Regions from separate parts of the Homo sapiens genome. Here all the other regions are linked to region 2. Evidence: promoter capture Hi-C in 16 types of primary human blood cells and fetal thymus (Javierre and others, 2016). All regions are on one chromosome and are shown on one strand. The core of a region is centred on a gene start or on the middle of the fragment in contact, and the rest is flanking DNA. Distances in the headings are between cores, read along the strand shown. Region 1 has its middle 70 kb from the start of IFNGR1. Region 2 holds the start of PEX7 (peroxisomal biogenesis factor 7). Region 3 has its middle 100 kb from the start of IFNGR1. Region 4 has its middle 46 kb from the start of IFNGR1.

Region 1 (2,958 bases), core at 48-2,547, 470 kb after region 2:
AAGCTACTGCTTTGTAACAAAAATCCCTAACATCTAGTTGAATACAACAGTAAGCAATTATTTATTACATATCTATGGGTCAGCTGGACAATTCTACTGATTTTAGTTGAACTTGCTCAAGCATTTGCAGGTTGCATAGGGGTTGACCAATCTGGGGTGGACTCAGCTGGGCAGCTCTGCATTATTCTCCCTGGACCAGCAGACTAGTCTTAATTTGTCTTCTCTCAGTGATGATTAAGGTACAAGAATATAAGCCCAATCATGGAGATATCTTTCAAGCATTTGATCTCATTATTTCAGTCCTCATGCCATTGGCCAAAGCAAACCACCTGTCCAGCTCCAAAACAAGTGATGGGCAAACACATCCCATCTAAGAAGGTAGGTGTGTGAATGTTTATGAACAATAACCTTACCTCCAAAATTAATTAATATCAAAATGTTCTTCCTGGAATTAAAAACAAGAGCACCTAGTTCTAACCAAAATTCCCGCAGGGTTTTTCATGAATTTTGATAAGTTGATCTCAAAAGTTTATATGAAAGAGTAAAGACTGAAAATATAGCCAAGATTGTTTTTCAGATAAAAGTAAAGTGGTGGGAATTATCAAGATTTTTCATAAAGCTATAATAATAAACCCATTTAATACTGATATAGGGAGCTACAAGATGGAAATGGCCAAGGAGCTGTTTTTTGAAAGACAAGAGGTTGTAATATTCAATTTCAAACTGAGTTTCTATGACATTTCTCCAAACCTTCAGGCAAGTCTTCTCCATCCCCACCCCAAACACATATACACACAATAGGAAAACTGAGAAAAATTCATGAGGACATGGATTCTATTCACTCTATCGTAGCATACAGAACAGGGTCTGGTGTACAGTAGATACTTGATAAAAATGTTCTGCATAACTAGATAAAAACTAGTATGAACAGGTTTGATGTATTTCCACAATGATAACCACACTGGTTGCGACTCCTATATATCTTTGAAGGTGTAGAGATGGTAGATTATTTACATTCCTTTTCAACATCTGGTAGCTCTGTCTTAAAATTTTTGCTTTTAAGTACTATGATAATTTGTGAGAGGTCTTAATACCCACCCAATTAACTTTTAGAGACTTGTGGGAATGAAACCAAGGAGTATGAAATTGAAACAGGCATTCAATTTCTAGATAAAAAGAGATGACAAGAAAAACATGTAAAAGAAGTACAGCATGAAATAAAAGAGGTAGGAGTATTTTCCTTAGAATATTAAGAAAATGCAATACTATTTTTTGCACAGTTGAAGAACACGATTGAAGAGAATTACCTATCAGAGTAGGTTAGTGTTAGAAGCAGATGTTGTCTAGGCATTTTGTTGAAAGAGACAGACTTTTAAAAAGGTTTTTATAAAATTTAAATTTTAATAATCAATATTTTATAATATAATACATTTACATTTTAGAAGTTACACTTAGTATATATTATATATAATTAGTATATGTAATATATATACTAAGTATAATAGTATAATATATCTTAGTATAATATATATGTGTTAAGTATTTATATACCCGTTATTCCCTTGGGTAATTTATCCTTCATCTTCATGAGCTTTTGGTCTTGCCAACTGTGTTTTGCTCTCTGTAGTCCATCTTTGTAATATAATCTTTGACGTGGGCAAGAGCTTACTGAAGTTATTGTTCCTTATCTGGAGGGTTTACAAAATTAATATTAACAGAATGACTAGGAAAAAGGGAGAGCTGCGTGTCCAAATGGAGTTCCAAGAAAGGAATTGAAAGTGCCTGTGTTAATCTGTCTTCCCCACGAAGACTGCTAATACCGGTGAGGGTGGTAACGGGGTGGCCTGGTTCCCCAGAGCCTGGATGAAGTGACTGAAGTCATGAAGACATTTCCACTGGATGGAAATATTTAACTGAATGGTGGAAAGAAAAAATATTTCCATTCATTCAGAAAACACCGAAGGCCTACTGTGTGCCAAACATTGCTCAGCAGTGAACTAAGCAGATGAAAATCCTATTCTCCTTGGGTCTTCATGCTTGCACGCTTGCTTCTCTTACCCAGTTAATACTAGAAACTATGGAGGAGAAAATAGAGTGAAGGGTAGGGAACCAGCCCGCCTGAAGCAGCCATCGCTGACCCACGGAGAAAGGGCTGTGAGACTGGGAGAGAGAGGGAAGGGCATCAGGCAGGGCAGGATCCCAGGACAGGCTGGAGGGTGGTCCTGAGCTGGCCATCTGGGAGGAGTGAACTTCCTGACTAAGCAAAAGTAACTACCTATGAGGCCGTGGGATGAGATGAGTTTCCCATCATTATCTCTGTCCTTCCATTCCCGAAAAAATAAATAAGAAGAGAAGGTCCTCCTCTCCCAGGAGCTTCCCAGGGTGGTTTTAGTGGAATGTACTTGAGAGTAAATATCAGAAGACTTGGGTTCTAGTGTAAATTCTATTGCTGACAGTTTACTGGTGGGTAAAATGAGTTCAGTTTACATAGTCTCTCAGTTGTCTCTCAACTCTTTATGACTGTGTAGCCCACCAGAAGCAGAAATAAAGATATTCCCTGTTTTGTGTGCATACATTTCCTAGACCCAAACTCATGTCTTTGCATAATGCTTATCAATAGAATAACTAAATAAAGCATTATTCTGTTTATAATAGAATGCCTCATAATCTTGTATATTGTTGAAATACCTCAATTAAAGTTTTATTATTATTACTGAAACTTCATGGCATGAAAAGTCAAACTAATTTTTTATTCTAAAACCACACCCACCAATTGCCAATTTGTCTTCAGTGTAACAACCACGTCTTCTTTGCCTATTGTAACTGTGTCTTAGTTTCTATCTGAAATGTTCACTTACCTGTGAAGTTCCTGATATCCCCAGTCCGAATGCACTTTTTCGTCTGTCTTCTCTCAGCACCTGTTTTATCCCTCTGCTGAATCACTTGGCATATTCTCGC
Region 2 (2,873 bases), core at 1-2,500:
TAAGACTCTTCATGATCTAGCCCCAGTAAAACACTCTACAGTCTCCCCACCCAATATTTTTTTCACCGTATCCCTTCCATCTGGCCAGGCTGAGTCCTGGCAGCCACGACCCCCTATGGATCATGCTGGTTTAAATCTCCTGGGTTGCTCATGTTATTCCTGCTCCTACAAAGATCTCCATCTTCTTGTCTACCTAAAGAAAACCTACTCATCTGTGTGCAATCACCATAAAGACTTATCTCTCTTCTGCAGCCTTTCCTGCAATTTCCATACCTCTGGCACGGACAATCACCTTTTAAAAATACCCCATATAAATTTATCATAGCCTCTACAGTATTTTGATTACACTTAACTAATTACATGACTTCTCTTTTAGTCTTCTTCTCTAATCTCTTGAGGCCATGGACCATATCCCATTATTTTGAATCCCAAATGCCTAGTACTGTTCTTGGTATATGGTTAAGATGATCATACGACTTGGTTTGTGCCTGTTGACCTGGCTTAATAATTACACCCTCTTTACTCTCAAAAGTATCTTGGTTTGGCAGATAAATTATATTTGGTCATTCTCCACATAGTATATGCCTGGCAATAAATGAATGAATGAGCACCAGCATCTGAGCACTTATTACCATACAATATATACATGTATAGTAATACTTTTTAAAAAAGTTGTATATGATGATGTGCTGCTTTTTTGCTTAGCTTCATTAGAACTGGCCAGCTCCTTTTTCTCACTTGCCAAGCATGGGGAGTTGGTTTGGAGTTGGTGTTTCATCTTTTCCAGTTACAGTGTGAAAGTAGCCCACCAGCCCACGCTCTTATTCCTAAAGACCGCAGTGACTCCACGGACTTAAGTTCTCATTGCTTCCAGTTTCCTTGGGCAACGCAGCACGCAATTTTGGACGCGCTGCGTGGTTTCAGAGTCGGCTGTAACTTTTCTCACTTTATAATCATCAGGAAAAGTTCCTGATGCCAGTCTTCCAAACGCTCAATGAAATAAAAACCAGATAGCACCGCAGAGGAGGCTGAGATGCAACGACAAAAGCTGTCGTAATTATTAATAATACCTAACCCTGGATCACTCCCCTGATAGATCTGTATCTTTGCAGCAGGCGCAATTCAGTTTGGATTCACCCAAAACAAAAATGGTCTCCGTCGGAGTCAACGCCCTTTCCTGTGCGGACCAATCAGAATCTCAAACACAGGGCACGGGGCCCACACTTCCGTCCGGTCTGCCTGGTCTCTCTAACCGCGCCAGTGTGCCTCCGACTCGGAACGGCTTCCGCGGCCGGGGCAGCGAGGGCCGGGGGCGGCGGGCGGGATGAGTGCGGTGTGCGGTGGAGCGGCGCGGATGCTGCGGACGCCGGGACGCCACGGCTACGCCGCCGAGTTCTCCCCGTACCTGCCGGGCCGCCTGGCCTGCGCCACCGCGCAGCACTACGGCATCGCGGGTGAGGCGGCGCCGCGCAGCTGGGGCCGGGGGGCGGAGGCGGAGGCGGGGGCCAGCCGGGCTCCAGTTCCTCGCGCTCGAGGGAAAGCCCCTCTGAGCGTAGACGGTTCCGCGGGTCCACGCCAGGGGGCAGAAGAGGCGCTGGTCGGCGCTTCTCCTTTCTTTGCCGAGTGCGAGGAGTTGGTCTGAAGCAGGAGTCGATCTTCCAGTTGTGTGCAAGTGCATATACGTGTAGCCTAGTAGCCCGTGTCCTTGTTCCTTGAGACCGCGCTGCCTCCGCCACGTGTCACACGCCCAGGCACACGTCCCCGTAGGGAGAGCCGGGGGAGCCTGCGCGGTCCCTTGGATCGGTCCGCTCGGCACAGCAGTACGGGGAAGACGGTCTGAGCCAGAACCGACCCAGGGCTCGCGAGTTGGCCCACAATTCCCAGTCTGCATTCGAGCACTGAGCTGCGACCTGCGGGCTGGCCTTCCTAAGGACGATGCTCCTGAATGGACGCCTGGAGTCCCACGGGTGACACCATGAAATATATCAAGTTCAGTTCTTACCTGTAGTTGTCTAACGAGGAATGCACACATTCGCAAGTAGGTGTTACAGACTCCAGTTAATTGTCTCCCGTCGCGCGCATTGGCTCAGCCTGTGGTTAAAGCTGCTCAGGAGGCTGAGGCGGGAGGATCGCTTGAGCCCGGGATGTTGAGGCTACAATGAGCTGAGATCACATCACTCTGCCCCAGCCCAGTGAGCTGAGATCACATCACTCCACTCCAGCCTGGGTGACAGACTGAGACCCCGTCTTAAAAAGAAAAAAGGCCAAGCGCCGTGCGGTGGCTCACGTCTGTAATCCCAGCACTTTGGGAGGCCGAGGTGGGCGGATCACTTGAGTTCGGGAGTTCCAGACCAGCCTGACCAACATGGAGAAACCCCATCTCTACTGAAAATACAAAATTAGCCGGGCGTGGTGGCGCATGCCTGTAATCCCAGCTACTCGGGAGGCTGAGGTAAGAGAATAGTTTGAACCCAGGAGGCAGAGGTTGCGGTGAGCCGAGATCGTGCCATTGCACTCCAGCCTGGGCAAGAAGAGCAAAACTCCGTCTCAAAAAAAAGAGTCCATCTAGTCCGTGGACTAGATGAAAAGGCGTAGGTTCATTCTCGCTTTTGCCTTAATTCATGTCCTAGCTATTATACGCACTGAAGCGAGATGCAAAAACTCATTTCATAATGTCAGTGGTCTATTGTATTTTTTTGTTTTGTCCTACAGCAGAAAAAAATGTTACTTCTAAAACTCAGAGAAATACTTGATTTATTTTCATTATTAGCTCTTAGTGCTTGCACATTCAGATTTACATGGCCCACCAGTTAGACTGAAGACTCATGAGTCTATAATGGTAGTAGTTTTCTTTTTTTCTTTTTTCTTTTTCT
Region 3 (2,858 bases), core at 216-2,715, 500 kb after region 2:
CATGAAACCTATTACAATAAATAGTATTTCTGGCTAGGTATAAAAGACATTGGTTTATTTTCCAATAAAATTATAATTCATCTGGTTTATGAGCAGGAGCTTAGAGATCAACTACAATATGAAGCAGTTCAATGTTTAAATATTATTTCTCATTTCATACCTGTGATTCGAAAACCTTTCCTGTTCATACACAAAGTGAGAAAATGTATTTCTAATCACAGCAGTAACCATATACTAATAAAGACATTGCTGAAATTGAGGTTCAGTGTGTGTGTGTGTGTGTGTGTGTGTGTGTTTGTGTGTTAGTGGGTGCATGGGTTTTGTTTTTTTCTGAACTCTAATACACCCAACATACCGGGGGATTTGGAGAGGCCAATAGAGCAAAACGCCATGACTATCCCGTGGTGATGGTCAGCTCACAGTTTGAGAACCTGACGAACAGCTTGACCGGCCAGCCTGTGGCACCCACAGCGAGTGGCTCTGGATGCAGCTCTCGGACAGGAGAAGTGGGTTCTTCCAAAAGCAAACAAACTCCGACCCACGGTCTTCATCTGGGCCCATCAGGTCAACCGTTGTTTTACAGAACATCGGCGATTGTCTTTCTCCTTGTGTCAGGAGCCTCTTGAAACATTATACGAGGATAATTAAGTGGTGAATAAGGGTCAATGTGGACAAATAAATCAAACTGATAGTTTGAACACAGACTGATTGAGCAAAAACAAGGAATTCTGCCATGCCTGTTACTGCAGTGCTTGATGTTAACTGACTTTGTTAACATTACATCCAAAGGCAGCAAGTGGGAAAGCTTTGTGTGGGATCAAAAACTGAGCAAAGAGACACGGGATTTAATTGTTCAGCTTTATTTTTGAAATAAAGACATGCAGCGCATCTATTTAGTTGACTTTAATGGAGCACGAAACCAAACCCATTCTTTAGCATGCTAATTGAGCCAGAAGATGCTTTCCTCTCCTGTAACAGAGATGCAAGAAATACCAGTAGAATCATCAGACTTTTGGAGCAGAAGTTCAGAGTTTAAAAATCTGACGGGAAGTTAAGTCCCTCTATCTCATGAGACAAATGAAATATTCAAGTAAATACAATATAAGCTTATAAATATTTTTAAATCACCTATCACAAGTCTAGTGGTAGTAAATGTTCATAGAATAAGAAGCTGTTGAAGTCAAATGTATTAACTTATGAAAGAGATTTTGTCAAGCAGAAGGGCAGCCTAGAAATCCTAAACAGGAAAGAGAGGGAGAGAAAGACAGACAGAACTCTTTAAAAAGACTTCTGTGTGTCCACAGGTTTGTTCTCTGGGGAAAAAATTATTAGAAATGAAATCGAAGGAGAAATCTATCTTAGTAAGGATAAAGAGGAGCTATATATATTATATACATATTTATAAATTTTTATTAAAATATATTTTTTATAAATATTCAAATATACTTTTATAAATATTTAATATATATATATTTTTTACCACGAACATGCATCTTGACTATTTTATTTGAGTATTGGAATTCAAGTTTTCCTGGCAGTCAAAATTTCACTTCACTATCCAGCTCTAATGTAGCAGAAATGAATATGTAGTTTAAGCTATAATTTTTTGTCATGTTAATGATCTTAGTTGTTATTTTATAGTCTTGTTCTAACTTACCATAATGGTGCTTGTGTCCGACAACGTAGGACACTGGATTTAATAATATATCACATATATCTTCATACATGAACAGCATCAATCTTTAAAATGATGATATTTAATAGTCTCACAAATAAAGTGAAAGAAACGTAATATAAACTTATGAAAATACATGCTATATCAATGTAAGCTTACAAAAATATATGCTATATTTTAATTATAAACTCACCAATGAATGAATTTTATTATAAAGAAAACCATTACTTTATTAAAAAATCTCCTTTAATAGAAAATCTTCTTTAATAGAAAAATGTATAAAGAGAAATGAGACACTGATTGCTTCTACCTTTCTGTGCTTTCCATATTTTATATATAGGTTGCTTGAAGAAATTAGCAATATAGTGAATAGTAATTGCAAACAGTAATTTATGAGTTTAAAGACATTTAAATGGCATTTGTTTGTAAGCATTGTTTACAAATTCATTCCCATATCTGGTCATCTGTCTTCATTTTTTAATTTAAATACTAGTATTAATACCAATACGCTTAGATCAACAAGGATAACACTGTTATTAATGTTGTCTTTTGGCTGTGTTAATATAAAATAACTATCAAGAATAAATTATATGGGGGAAGGTGGCTATTTGCTGCAGTGCTCCTAGGTTTTTTTTTCCCCATAAATATTTTCACATAAAGAATCTAAGAGAAGCTCATCTATGAGCCGCCTACTCTGAGAAAGTGGTCTGAGAAAGGTGTAATGGATTGTGGAGGGAAATGAAGGCAAGCTTACACCATATCCAATCAGCCTTTTTCTGAAAGGTCAGGACATTCTGTCTGGGCCCATTTGTGTTTTTGATTCTGCCGTTTCACTATTCAGTAACACAATGTAACTGTCAGTCTCAACAACAGCTCCTGGATCTGCTGGCTCCACAGCTCTCGGGGTAACATACAATATTTCACATTCACAAAACAATTCAACGTCTGCGTGAGCAAACCATATGATGACCACAGGGAGCAATATGGTCACACCCTACTGAGCACTCTTAAGGGGACTCTGCAAAGAACTATGTCTAAAAAAGAATCAGGCTTTGCTCCTCTGGGCTTTTGCTTACTTGCCAAATAGCATTTTAATGTTTCATTTTTATCAGCAGAAGTCAAATGCAAATGTTCCTCCCTCTGCTCCATTTTGGTAGAGAAAGAGAGCTTTACTGCTATGCAA
Region 4 (2,721 bases), core at 211-2,710, 440 kb after region 2:
CTCTAGACTCTATTCACCCAGAGAAAGCACCAGAAGAATCTGCAAACAAACGTTACTTCATTAGTTTACCCCCATATAGTTATTTTCCCACTGTTTCCTACCCCGAAAGGAAATTGCCTTCCTTTGTCCTGTCATTTCTCTATAAATTTATTGTTCTTTGTTGAAGATGCGATACAAGCCAGAGTTCTAAGCAACTGCTTTGAGTTACTTTTCATTGAGGTTTTTCCTGCATGGTGTTCACTGTATGTGTTAATAAACTTGTTTGTTTTTTTCTTGTTGATCTGCTTTTGTTACAGGGGCTTGTCTCAACTGAGAACTTACACAGGGACAGGTAATCTGTAGCTTCCCTGACAACTGAAATGAAAGAGCTAAAATTACAAAACTCTTAAAAGAAAACATGGGATTTGCTATGGTTTGAATGTCCCACCAAAACTCATGGTCAAATTTAATTGCCATTGGGGTAGTACTAGGAGGTAAGACCTTTAAGAGGTGTAGATCATGAGGGTTCTGCCCTTGTGAACGGATTAATGCTGTTATCAGGGTAGTGGATTAGTTATTGAGGGAGAGGACTCCAGCATAAGTTTGACCTCCATTTTCTCCCTGTCTCATTTGTCACCTGCCTTTCTGCTTTCAGCCATGGTGTGATGCAACAAGAAAGCCCTCACCAGATGGCTAAGCAGATGCTGGCACCATGCCTTTGGACTTCCCAGCCTCCAAAACTGTGAGCCAAATAATCTTTTGTGTATAAATTATCAAGTCTGTGATACTCCGTTATAGCAGCAGAAAACAGACTAAGACAAGATTAAATCTTTGTGACCTTGGGCTAATCAATGATTTCTTAACTATGACAATCACATATCGGATAAGAGCCTTAATTCACAATATATAAAGAACTTTTATAATTTAACAATGAAAAGACAACACAATTTTAAAAGGGCAAAGTATTTGAATAGACATTTCTCCAAATAAGTTATATAAATGGCCAATGAGCACGTGGAAAGATGCTCAACATCTGTTTGACATTAGGCAAATGCAAATCAAAACCACATTCACTAGGATAGCTACAGTAATTAAAAAAGGAATGATAGTAAGTGGTGAGGATGTGGAGAAATTGGAACCCTCATATATTGTTGGTGGGTATGTAAAATGATGCAACCACCGTGGAAAGCAGCTTGACAGCTCCTCATAAAGTTAAACATGGTGGTACCACAGGACCCAGCAATTCTACTCTTAGCTATATATGTCCAAGAGAGATGGAAATTTAAGTCCACACAAAAATTTAATTTGCCATTTTCATGGCAGCATCATATATAATGGCCAAATATTGGAAACAACCCAAATGTTCATCATCTGATGAATGGATCAACAAAATGAGGTATATCTATACAATGAAATAGGATTTGGCAACAGAAGAAAGAATGGAGTACTGACACAGGCTACATCATGGATGATCCTTGTAAATACTAAATAAAAAAAGCAAGTCATAAAAGATCACATATTGTATGATTTTATTTATGAGAAATGTCTAGAGTAGGCAAATCTACAGAGACAAAAAGTACATTAGTGGGCACCTAGGGCCAAAGAGGGGAGAGAGAATGGGCAGTGATGGCAGCAGGGTGTTTGGAGGAGGGCTGGTGATGAAAATGCTCTAAAGTTATAGAGATGTTTGCACAAATATATTAATATATTTTAAAACATTGAATTGTATATGTTAAATGATTGAATTTTATGGTATGTGACACATGTCAAGAAAGATGTTTTTAAAAATAGTTCAGGAAAATGGATATATATACAAATTATGCAACTAGTTCACTTTCCAGAATCCCATAAATTAAAACTCCTATGACTTGTAAATCTTCTAGATCTTAGACCGGATTATCATAAGCCTATTCTTAACTAGAAATTTCCTGGACACATGCCAAGGAATAAAAACTCTTGGCTGGGTGCGGCGCCTTAGAAACCCTGAGAGACAAGTATTATCTTCTAATCAACAAAACTGGTAGATGATTAAATTATTGGTTCAGAGTACAGGCTTTTTGCTAGACAGAAACATCCAAAACTTAATACTTAATAAAGGAAATTAAGAACAGAGATTTTTCATAGTGGAAACCTTGTTAAGATTACCGAGGCTTACAGGAGATAGTACCAGAGCATGCATGTATTTGGCAGCTACTGAGAGTCTGCTATTTGCCAGAAGATATTAGACACTGGAAAGAAATGTTTAAAAGGCTGAGTCCCTGCCCTAAGGGAGCTTATGGTCCAGGGAAGAGACACAAATGCGTTTCATATCACATGTTAAGTGCTGCGGGGAGGGTATGCAAGGAAACGAAGGGACAGAGAAGAGAGTTGGTCACCCTGGTTGGGAGACCAGAGATGCCTCCTCAGAGGAGTTTCTAGGAGAGGATCAGGGTTGGAGCAGGTGTGGGATTTCAAAGCACAGCCATCTGGAATGTGCACTCAGAAAGAAGAAAACCTCAGGGGACAAGGAGAGCCAGTGTCTGAAAAATGGCGCAAAAGGCTGTTCTCTTCTGTTATGCTATGTTTATGTTTCTTTGAGGAGGGAACTGTGTAAGAGGTAATGTGTGGTAACGTATTAGCACTTGAGAAGGAAATGCCTTTGACTCAGTGCAATTTCTTCCCCAGTAAGAATAATCTCCAAAGACTGCTAAAAATATAGAGGAGAAGCAAAGTGAAGTCTTCGTTTTTTCTTTTTTCATCTCT

Evidence for each region. The method cuts DNA at HindIII sites, captures the fragments that hold promoters and counts their contacts. A CHiCAGO score of 5 or more calls a contact.
Region 1: a contact is called between a fragment that was not itself captured here and the fragment with the promoter of PEX7 in region 2, in 1 of 17 cell types (neutrophils). The highest score is 7.9, in neutrophils.
Region 3: a fragment that was not itself captured here is called in contact with the fragment with the promoter of PEX7 in region 2 in 1 of 17 cell types (neutrophils); the score reaches 6.3 in neutrophils.
Region 4: a fragment that was not itself captured here is called in contact with the fragment with the promoter of PEX7 in region 2 in 1 of 17 cell types (neutrophils); the score reaches 7.1 in neutrophils.

What each region holds. Positions count from the first base shown.
Region 1 is chr6:137,287,636-137,290,593 of GRCh38, forward strand. No RefSeq gene overlaps it. Among named protein-coding and RNA genes, the nearest start is that of IFNGR1, 70 kb to the left of the region's middle. The HindIII fragment of the contact is 8,336 bases long and covers 1-2,958 here.
Region 2 is chr6:136,821,342-136,824,214 of GRCh38, forward strand. PEX7 (peroxisomal biogenesis factor 7) reads left to right here and starts at 1,251. Exons shown (of 10, transcript NM_000288.4): 1 at 1,251-1,454. The coding sequence starts at 1,325. RefSeq lists enhancers at 822-971, 855-1,587, 1,588-2,320, 1,702-1,861 and a silencer at 1,152-1,531. The HindIII fragment of the contact is 4,798 bases long and covers 1-2,873 here.
Region 3 is chr6:137,319,779-137,322,636 of GRCh38, forward strand. No RefSeq gene overlaps it. Among named protein-coding and RNA genes, the nearest start is that of IFNGR1, 100 kb to the left of the region's middle. The HindIII fragment of the contact is 723 bases long and covers 1,105-1,827 here.
Region 4 is chr6:137,263,826-137,266,546 of GRCh38, forward strand. No RefSeq gene overlaps it. Among named protein-coding and RNA genes, the nearest start is that of IFNGR1, 46 kb to the left of the region's middle. The HindIII fragment of the contact is 6,399 bases long and covers 1-2,721 here.